Linked DNA regions of Homo sapiens: region 1 is linked to region 2. The links are contacts of gene promoters, found by promoter capture Hi-C in blood cells and fetal thymus (Javierre and others, 2016). All regions are on one chromosome and are shown on one strand. The core of a region is centred on a gene start or on the middle of the fragment in contact, and the rest is flanking DNA. Distances in the headings are between cores, read along the strand shown.

Region 1 (5,542 bases), core at 2,376-4,875, 220 kb before region 2:
GGCCTGTCTACTAATCAGACATTTCCCTCAAATCCAGGAGTCAGGCAGCTCATTCCAATAACAGGCTCTCATTTTTTTCAGAAGATCCTGTCACTCTTATGGCGTTACCACTTATCAGAGCTACTCTTGACGTGTACAGCCAGAATTAAACAGACTCCTTTGTTCTTGGTGTTCTATCTTTAGTAATGCAGCTGAAATCTGAGTGAGCATCATCAGAGGCACACACCACACCAGGGACCCATTCTGAGCACACGGCACACGAGACCCCCGGGTCTCTGTCTTGAGAACTTCAGCCAAGTCAGGTCTTGACACCCTCACACTTGTGCACCTACATTTTTTGAACAGCAAGGCTTACATCAAACCTTGTGAGATCTCATCGGCCCACCTCGATGGATCTTTTTAGATCCTGGTGCTCTTGCCCATGAATTCACAATCCCTGCCAGGTTGGTGTCCCTGTTTTTTGAATATGAGCCACAGGCCTCCTCCATCCAAGGCATCAAAATAACTGAAGGGAATGAAACTGAAGACAGAGCCCTGGGACACTAGACACTTTCCTCTGGCTGCCTTGGACCCACTGCCTGTGTCCTCTTGGGGCCTGACACACAGCAGGGGCCCATGCCAGTTCTGAGGCTGCCACCAATTCTGGCACCCAGCCCAGCCCAACCTTCCATGGCTCCTCAAAATCCACAGCACCACGCCCACATATTCCTTTGATAACATGATCTAATTATCCCCGCCCTTTTCTCAACAAACACCATTTCCGTACATAATTCAGTTCATATTAGATTCCTAAAATCGTAGAGGTGATGGAAGGTGATTTAGAGAGATTATCGAATGGGTTTCATCCTCTATAAAACTTTATTGCCCTTATCACTGGAACTTTGTGTGTGTGTGTGTGTGTGTGTGTGTGTGTGCGTGCCATTTTGAACATCTAACCACCTCTTACCCCCAAAGAACAAGTTCCCTGATGGCAGGAATGTGCCACCCCTGATTGGGGCAGGAGGAACAGAGTGGAGCTGGAAGAGGATCAACATTTAGTAGGTGCTCATGCTACGCTGGGAAATTGACATGTTCAATCCCCATGAAAACTTTGCTTAGAGATACTAGTATCCATTTTATAGACGGGGCCATAATGGCCTGGAAGGGTTGGATAATGTGCCCAGGATGATCTGGAAAGGGGTGGGCCCATTGGTCATCCACCCTAGGCCTGCTGACTAAGAGTGGACCACAGTGATGGTAAAAATGTAAACAAGAAAACAGAGCACTCCAAAACAACTTTAAAAAGTGGAAAAGGTCCAGAATAAATGTCCAGGTAGCTACAGAATCTGGCCACCACTGTCATCAGGGTGAGGTTCTGCCACGAGTGACTCATCTCAAACCTTTTGTGCCAAAGCACTCATTTGATCATTGAATAAACCCACATTGAGCACTGACTGTGTGCCAGGCACCGAGGGGGCTGAGTGTGGTGGTAGATGAGATCCAGTCCCTGCCTTGGGGCACTCAATGTCTAATGGGGGAGGCAGGCTTGGAAACAACACGGGCAGTCCCCAGATAGACATCGGCACACACAGGTAGCTGCCATCTAACCCTGGCTGGGACTCCCAGCGAGGGCTTCCAAGAGGAGATGGTGTTTGAGCAGAGTCACAAAGGCCTGGTAGTCGAGGGAGGGCAGAGGGTGCTTGAGGTAGTGGGAAGAGCAGGTATCCAGACATCAGGGCCACATGCAAAGGCCTGGGGCCCGGCAAGAGGGAGGAGAGGAGGACGGCAGCGTTCTCCAGGGCTGCAGTGGGGCACAGGAGAGGCAAGAGCAGGCCAGGTCAAAGAAGGGACTCATGGCATCCAGAGGTGCCTGAAGGGCATGAATGCCACGTGAAGCACCACTGACCTTGATGGATGGACCTTGATGTCACAGGGCCCAGGACAAGCTGCCACAGGTGCACACTGCTGCCTCCTGCTCACAGGGGATGAGGCCTGGGGAGCTGTGCTCTGACCTGGGGGTAGGCCCTCCAGACTTGGGCAGCACTGCCATGGCCACTCCTAGACGGAGGAAGCAGGGTGGACTGAGCACAAAGGGGGAGCAGTGGAGCAAAGAGGGGTTCAATGACATGAAGACCCGTGTGGCCTTGGGGAGAAGGGGGCATGGACGTCAGGGAACAGGTTTGCCACACCTGTGAATGAACAGAAGACCTTCTCCCAAATAGTGCCAGGACACCCTGGGCAACGGACTCATTGGTTAACACCGAGATCTTTTCATGGCAATAAAATAAATCCTGACATTTAACATAGGAGACTGCTGGGGACGGCACAGGAAGAAGTCATTTCTCAGCAAGGAGCTGCTGAGGCTGGCATTTCCGGTGCCTGCAGGAAGCTTGTTCTCCTTGGAAGGAGCAGCTGGCTGATGCCAAAGCTCAGGCCTTCCTCATGAGGAGCTCAGGGCCTAGCTGGGGGTCTTGATGAGCACATGACACTCACTGCCTGTTCCCTGCTCTGAGTGGATGCAGCCAGGCAGCCTGGGGTGACCTTCAGGGCTTCCTGCCCTCCCCATGCACACACCTACCCGGAGTCCAGAGGGCCAGCTTTATAGATGTGCTTGCTGAGACAACACCTCTGTCTCCACCTCCCTAAGGCCCCTGCCCCACCCATTGCTGTCAACGAGATGTCTATTCCCCTGGCCACTGCCACCTCTGGGACCCAGGACTTGGCCCTCCTTCCTGCTGGTAACTGCTCCTGGTACCCCTCCTCCAAGGCCCCTTGAGAAGCCTGTGGGGCCGGCAACCCCTGGAACAGACTCTGCTCACAGAGACTGGTGGCTAGAGCTGGGGGTGTGTATTTTTCCAATGCCTCCTCTACTGACCTTTAATTACACTGTTTGCCCAGCTTCCCAAACCATTAACTTCACCTGGCAGCAACCATACGTCAATTAACGGAGGGCCCGCTCCGAGCTTGAGCTCCTGAACACAATTAGGCGTGACAGTCCACAAATAAGAAAGAACTGGAGAATTAATTAAGGTCTAAGCAAATTAATTACCAGTCCCCAATCGATTCCGATGCCAGCACACATGCTCCTGGGCTCACTGTCTTTCCTAACATCTCCATGTATAAATAGAAACTGAGATCTCCCACACGATTGCTGTTCTAGACCAGGGACACAGCATGGCCCTGAAACCACCTCTCTCCAAGGGGAGAGAAATGGCTGCAGTGAGCATCCCAGGGCTTCCCACATACTCAGCACATGTGCCTGCACATGCATCAGTCACGTGACACAGGCGTGTGCACACACACACTCTGAAAAACTAGGGGGGAACTTGGAGGCAGAACAGGGAGGACACCGCGTAGCCTTGGCTGCCTCCAGGCCACACTGCTCAGTTTCTCAGCTATATGGGTGAGGGGTTATCTCACAGGGCTTGAAATAGCCCTGGGCTGGGCCTGGGAGGCCTGGGAGGCCTGGGCTCTGGCCAGCTCAGTATCACTTTTAGCAAGTCTGACTTTGTTCATTCTTCTGTAAGAGGGTGATGGCTTGCTCTGCCTTCGGACCCTCCCAGCACAGAATGAGGAGAACCGAGGGAGGAGAGAGGCTTGCTAGGGAATATGAGGGGAGCCGTGCAGCCCCCAGGAGCTCTGCAAACCTCAAGGAGGCCTGCAGTCACAGAGGTCCTGGTGGGAAGGGGCTGAAGGAGGGTCTCGTCAGAGGCCTCGTTTCCAGATGAGGAGACAGCGGGTAGAATGGGGTGGGAATGGTGGAGTTTGGTGTGGGGTCCAGGTGCGTGTGTCTCAGGCCACTCTTAGGCAGTGTGTAGCCCACCTCCCAGGCTTCAGGCTGGGGCCTGCAGAGGAGCTGGCAGAGCCTTGGGAAGAAGAAACTGACTCTTGGGGATTCCTTGTTCCCCAGAGCTTGAGTTCCCAACCTGCTCAGAAGTGTGAGAGCCTGGATGCGGCCTCTGACCACAGGGCACAAGCCTCTTCAGGACCCCCATCACCCTGAAGACCCCCTTCCACTCCACTCACATCCCAACAACAGAGCTTAAATATGATCACTGCCACTTTCCCCAACCTCCTTCCCATGTGCAGTCACTGCTCAGTGAGTCCTGTCTCTGCAAGCAGCCTAAAGGGACAGGGGACCCTCCACAAGGTCAAGCACAGCCTGAGCCAGCTTCTTGGTCACCTTTAACAGTGGCCCAGCCAGGTCTGGCCTAGCCTACCTCGGAGACCTGCAGTGAACCCCGGGCAGGACCTAGGCCCTGCCAGCACCTGGTGCAGCTTAGGGATACTCTGGCCAGGGGTACCTGGGGATAAGGTGAAGAGAGGCCAAGTACAGGGACTGGACGGTGGCCTGAGAGGACCAGGGGGCTTTTGAGTCCCTGGTGGGAAAGGGCCACACCTAATCATCTCAAAACTGTGTCAGCATGGACTAGGGCAGTCCGCAAGTGTCCACTTGCAGATGAGAGCGATGGACATAGGGACTAGAGAGATGGAAGCCTGTGGGGGGGTGGGAGGGGAGACTGGGGCTGGGGCAGAAGGCAGGCAGGTACCCAGCCAGGACTCAGCAGCCAGGCCAGAGGAAGAAGCCACAAAGGGCCTGCCTCTCCCTGGATCCCGCAAGCAAGGACTGTCAGGGCTTAAACCACATTATGCAACCCGTGAGGGATGTTCAGGATCTCAAGACAACAGTGGCTGCACCTGTGTGAGCGGCTGAAGCCTCATTCCCAAAAAGAAGAGGGGAGGGGAATTACACTGGAGTCTGAAGAGGGGCAGGTCAGAAAGTCTCAGACCCAAAGCAGGGACTCTCCTCCTGAAAGAGTCCCAGAGAGGTTAAGACCACCTCAAGGTGACACAGCAAGATGGCCAGTAGGGCTGGAATGGGCCCCCGGCAAAGTTCTTATCTAAAGCTTGGCTAGGGACAGATTACATCTTGGCCGAATCCCAGATCCAGCCCAGTGCAGCAGAGCGCTGCCCCTTCTCAGGCTGCATCTGACCCTGCAGCTGAATGGCCGGGAACACCAGTTGGGCAGCCGTGTTTGCTTTATTAGGCCCCTTAACGAAGTCAGATCTAAAGGGTTATTCCATTAATGGCCCACGACAGAAATAGCTGAAAGTTCATTAAAAGTGTGGAGTTGCTATAGCAATTATCTGGGCTGGCTGAGGCTGAGCCAGGTGGCTGGTTCTCGGAATTCATTAGTCTCTGGGTCATCCAGAGGTGGGGCTGCCCAGCAATGACCTCTCACCCTCTCACAGGGCTTTGCAGGTGCTTCAAAGCACCCTCCTCTCAGTGGAAACTGGTTTGTGGCCTCACTTGCTCCTCCCAGAGCTCTGGGCTGTAGGAAGGTGGGTACTGGTACCCGCCTTTTACAGATGGAGAAGCAGGGCCCTGTAGATGACGATCAGGGTCAGGACCATGAGCCTGGGTCTGACTCCAGCTCTTCAGATGGTGCCTTGGTACCACAGAGGTCACGAGTCCTCATGCCCTGTGCTGGCCTGTCCCCATCGTTGTCCTTTGGCACAGATGGGGAGCTCTGCTGTTATGGTTCAAGGACTGGTTTATCCT
Region 2 (5,579 bases), core at 2,264-4,763:
GAACTGGCAGTTAAGACTGTCGCTGGCTACTTGGGCTTCTCTCACCAGTGAATCAATAGGCACTGAAGAGTATTATCAGACTCTCTGGGTGACTGATCCTGACTGTCAGGGGGATAATGGGAACAACATGGTATTTCCATATCCTGTGATTAAAATCAATAGCAAAACTACAACTAAATAAAGGAAGGACTGATAATGGTCCAGACCAGGAACAAGTGGGCACTGAATTTTCACAAAGTATAAAGATCTGTGTAACCAGCATCCAGATGAAGAAATAGAACACTGGCCGGGCACGGTGGCTCACATCTGTAATCCCAGCACTTTGGGAGGCTGAGGCGGGTGGATCACCCAAGGTCAGGAGTTTGAGACCAGCCAGCCTGACCAACATGGTGAAACCCTGTCTCTATTAAAAATACAAAATTTGCTCGGCATGGTGGCACATGCCTGTAATCCCAGCTACTTGGGAGGCTGAGGCAGGAGAATCGTTTGAACTGGGAGGCAGAGGTTGCAATGAGCCAAGATCATGCTACTGCACTCCAGTCTGGGCAACAATAGTGAAATTCAATCTCAAAAAAAAAGAAAATAAATAGAACACTGCTACCACCACAGAAGTTCCCGTCATGCCCTTTGCCACTCATTAACCACCCCCAAGCATTCTCCTGACTTCTAGTAGCATAGATAAGTTTGCCTTGTTTTTTTATTTTTTTATTTTTTTGAGACAAGAGTCTCACTCTGTCACCCAGGCTGGAGTGCAGTGGCGCAACTTTATTCTACTGTTGGTAGACATTCTGGTAGTTTCTGATTTGGGGCTATTGCAAATAATGCTGCTGTGAACATTCTGAAACATGTCTCTTGTTAAACACATATGTATATTTGTGTTGGGTATACACTATACCTAGGATAGGAACTGCTGGATCAGAGGGTTAAGCTTAAGTAAATACTGCTTATCCATTTTTCGAAAGTGTTTCTACCAATTTATATGCCCACACTCAGTGGATAAGAGTTCCAGATGCTTCATATTATCATCAACCCTCGGTATTTTCTTTTTCTTTTTCTTTTTCTTTTTCTTTTTTTTTTTTTTTTTGAGACAGAGTTTTGCTCTTGTTGCCCAGGCTGGAGTGCAATGGCTCACTACAACCTCCGCCTCCCAGGCTCAAGCGATTCTCCTGACTCAGCCTCCCAGGTAGCTGGGATTATAGGTGTGCACCACCACACCTGGCTAATTTTGTATTTTTAGTAGAGATGGGGTTTCACGATGTTGGTCAGGCTGGTCTCGAACTCCTGACCTCAAGTGATCCACCCGCCTCAGCCTCACACCTGCCTTGGCCTCCTAAAGTGCTGGGATTTACAGGTGTGAGCCACCGTGCCCAGCCAGCCCTTGGTATTTTCCATCTTCTGGTGCGTGTATAGTGGATCACGATGTGATTTGAATTTGCATTTCCCTGATGACTCACAGAGTTCAGTATGTTTCATACTTTTTTTTTTTTTGAGACAGAGTCTCGCTCTTTCGCCCAGGCTGGAGTGCAGTGGTGCAGTCTTGGCTCACTGCAACCTCCGCCTCCCAGGTTCAAGCAATTCTCCTGCCTCAGCCTCCGAGTAGCTGAGATTACAGGCACCCACCACAACACCCAGCTAGTTTTTGTATTTTTAGTAGAGATGGGGTTTCACCATGTTAGCCAGGCTGGTCTCAAACTCCTGACCTCAAGTGATCTGCCCGCCTTGGCCTCCCAAAGTGCTGGGATTACAGGCATGGGCCACCGCGCCCAGCCACATATGGTTTTAAGCTATTCAGATATTTCCTTTTATAAAGTGCCTAGTTCATGTACTAACCCATCTCAGTGGTCTTTTTAAAGTCTGTTGTAGGGCTGGGTGCGGTGGCTTACGCCTGTAATCCCAGCACTTTGGGAGGCCAAGGCGGGTGGATCACCTGAGGTCAGGAGTTCAAGACCAGCCTGGACAACATGGTGAAACCCCATCTCTACTAAAAATACAAAAAATTAGCTGGGCATGGTGGCGGGTGCCTGTAATCCCAGCTACTCAGGAGGCTGGGGCAGGAGAATCGCTTGAACCCAGGAGGCAGAGGTTGCAGTGAGCCGAGTGCCATTGCACTCCAGCCTGGGCAACAAGAGTGAAACTCCATCTCTAAATAAATAAATAAATGAATAAAAATAAAGTCTGTTATTCGTTTGGCTTTATTTTTGGTATACTTAACAAAAATTAGCTGGGTGTGGTGGCACATGCCTGTAATCCCAGCTACTGAAGCAGGAAAATCGCTGGAACCTGGGAGGCAAAGGTTGCAGTGAGCCAAGATTGTGCCACTGCACTCTAGCCTGGGCAACTCCATCTCAGAAAAAAAAAAAAAAAGGACTACTAAAAGAATGAAAAGGCAGGCCACAGAGTGACAGAGGTTATCTGCTTCTATGTATATTACAACGAAGGACTTGATTCCAAATTATCTATACATAAAACTCTTACAATAAGAAAAACATAGTGACCCAATACAAAAATAAGCAAACCAGTTGAACAGGCACTTCACACAAAAGAGGATATCCAAGTGGCTGATAAGCATGTAAAAAGATGCTCACAATGAACGGTCTTCAGGGAAATAAATGCAAATTAAAACCACATACCTAGGGGATTTGAAACAAGGCAGTTCTGTTAACCTCTCTTGCTGTATTTACTAATATGTAAATTGGAGATATTAATGCTTATGCTCAGGAATTTACAGTCTGAAGAAGGAATAAATGACACAACAGAAAACTGATAATTATGTATGGAAACACAGAATTATATACTAAAAGTCCAAGGTTAGAGACATAGTGGCCATATCTTTTACCCCTAAATCAACTCAAATCAAATCAAATCAAATCCTGAGCTCAAGCGATCCTCCCGCCTCGGCCTCCCACACAAGTACTGGGATGCCAGGCATGAGCCACTGCACCTGGCCAAAAAAAATATTAAAGAAAGAACGAAATTGGTAATCACAGCGCATCTCAAGGCAGGGAAACTAAAGGGCTGAGGCCAGATGGAAAATGTACTTATCACTGTGCTTATAAATAAAATATTTACATTTTAAAACAAACAAACAAAAAGTCCGCGCGGTCCTAGGTGAATCTGGCCGAGGCTTCTGCGTCAAGGACGGCGCGGGTCAGCTGAGGCCAAGACCGCAGGCACTGCCCTACCGCTCTCCAGATCACAGCTCCGCCTCTGCAAGGCCCCGGGGAAACGGGCATCCCTTCTTCAGTGAGCAAAGGAGAAAGACGGAGCCCGGTGGCTGGGTGTTTCGCCCAGGATCACCAGCGAGCTCAGAGTCCTCCCCACGACCGCCCCAGGGTGGGCATTTTTAAAAGCGGAGGAAGGGAGGGAACACACTCTTTGGTGCTGTGCCCACCTTGCCTCGCACAGAGCGGGCGCTCACAGGCTTTGGGGGCCCCGCCCGGACCGCAGTGGGGAGAGGCCGCCCCATGCCCCGCCCCGCCAAATTTAAGAGCCTTCGCCGAGCGCCAGGAGGTTCCCAGACAACCGGTCTTGCTCGCTGCCTTTTGCAGAATCTTCTCACTTCTCCCGAGCTCCCTTCCTTGCGTCCGTCCGGGCAACGGCCGCGTCATGCCTAGCCCCAGGCCGCGAGGCAGCCCGCCACCCGCTCCCTCGGGCTCTCGGGTCCGACCTCCGCGCTCTGGCCGCTCTCCGGCGCCCAGGTCCCCTACTGGCCCGAACACGCCCCGCGCTCCCGGACGCTTCGAGTCCCCTTTCTCGGTCGAGGCCATCCTGGCGAGGCCCGACCCCTGCGCGCCGGCGGCCTCCCAGCCGTCGGGCTCCGCCTGCGTCCACCCGGCCTTCTGGACCGCTGCTTCCCTGTGCGCCACCGGGGGTCTGCCCTGGGCTTGCCCGACATCGTGGCTGCCCGCCTACCTGAGCGTAGGTTTTTACCCTGTGCCAGGGCCGCGCGTGGCTCCCGTCTGCGGCCTGCTGGGCTTCGGCGTCACAGGTACTGCGGTCCCGGCGCCCGCACGCGGGGGACTGGGCGGGGGCTGGAGAGCCTAGGTCGCCACTGCCGGCGCCCCAGTGCAGGAGAGGGCACTGAGTGTGAGAATCACACACGGCTGGAGTGGGAAGGGGCTCTGCCACCGTTTACCTTGCAGTTGAAGCCGAGGACCGCGACAGTCTTGCTGAAAAAGACCCCGGCGCGAGGCTTCCCCCGCACGCTGCTGAGGTGGGAGAGGGTGGGTGTGAGGGCGGCGCAGCGCCTGAATGCGGTGGGCAGGAGGCCAGCGCTGGGGCTGCAAGGGGACCCAGCCCTGCTCCCGGTCTCCGCGTCCCTTGACTCCCTCGCACACCCCGGGGTAGCGCTTAGTGACAGAGACGCTTCCCAAAGCGGCTCTCGACCCGAACCAATGGCCCTGTTTTTTTTTTTTACGGGGTAGGGGGAAGTGGACGCTCCGGGCGGTGCTGTTGAGCGAGGAGCTGTTAGGAGCTGGTCAAGGCTCACACCCCACTACCGCCTCCACTGCTCACGTCTGTGAACTTGAGCTACACACTTCGCTCTGAGCCTGCGTGCATGCAATGCTCTTAAGTAGTGCTTAAGGGCCAGGCACTTAAATCTCATGAGAAAGTAATTGTAAGGTTGGGCGCGGTGGCTCACGCCTGTAATTTCAGCACTTTGGAAGACCGAGGCGGGTGGATCACCTGAAGTCAGGAGTTCAAGGCCAGCCTGGCCAACATGGTGAAACCACATCTTTACTTAAAAGACAAAAAATTGGCCGGGCGCGGTGGCTCACGCCTGTAATCCCAGCACTTTGGGAGGCCGAGACGGGCGGATCACGAGGTCAGGAGATCGAGACCATCCTGGCTAACACGGTGAAACCCCGTCTCTACTAAAAATACAAAAATTAGCCGGGCATGGTGGCGCGTGCCTGTAGTCCCAGCTACACAGGAGGCTGAGGCAGGAGAATGGCGTGAACCCGGGAGGCGGAGCTTGCAGTGAGTCGAGATCGCGCCACTGCACTCCAGCCTGGGCGACAGAGCGAAACTCCGTCTCAAAAAAAAAAAAAAAAAAAAAGACAAAAAATTAGGAGGGCGTGGTGGCGCGCGCTTGTAATCCCAGCTACTCAGGAGGCTAAAGCAGGAGAATCACTTGAACCCGGGAGGTTGAGGTTGCATTAAGCCGAGATTGCGCCACTGCACTCTAGCCTGGGCAACAGAGTGAGACTCCGTCTCAAACAAACAAATCAACAAAAAAAAGTAACTATAGAGGGAACTTTGCCTTCTAGCATTAAACATCCACCTACACGTGCTTTTGCCATTTTTGGTTGCCAGGTTCATGTTTCCCCATGTCCCCACGAAGAAAACAGGAGCAAAGTTAGTCCAAGCCTTATCAACCCATACAAAGATAGTTGTAACACAGTCTTGCCGGGTTCCTACTCCGTGGCACCCACCCCAATCCTGCATTTCCTCACCCCATTTCAGCAGTGCATTAACCCTTGGACTCGCAGCCCCATCTAAATTCAATACCACTGGATCTGGGAGCTGTGCCCATCACTCCCAGTCACCTTTCTCTGAGCTCTTCACACACCTGAGGT

Evidence for each region. Contacts are between HindIII fragments. The CHiCAGO score rates a contact against its expected background, and 5 or more counts as called.
Region 1: a fragment that was not itself captured here is called in contact with the fragment with the promoter of NOTO in region 2 in 2 of 17 cell types (naive CD8 T cells and total B cells); the score reaches 5.8 in naive CD8 T cells.

What each region holds. Positions count from the first base shown.
Region 1 is chr2:72,981,084-72,986,625 of GRCh38, forward strand. All of the region lies in intron 10 of SFXN5 (sideroflexin 5), which reads right to left. Among named protein-coding and RNA genes, the nearest start is that of EMX1, 66 kb to the left of the region's middle. RefSeq lists an enhancer at 1,406-1,906. The HindIII fragment of the contact is 2,518 bases long and covers 2,367-4,884 here.
Region 2 is chr2:73,199,061-73,204,639 of GRCh38, forward strand. NOTO (notochord homeobox) reads left to right here and starts at 3,514. Exons shown (of 3, transcript NM_001134462.2): 1 at 3,514-3,988. The coding sequence starts at 3,607. RefSeq lists an enhancer at 4,357-4,908. The HindIII fragment of the contact is 10,291 bases long and covers 927-5,579 here.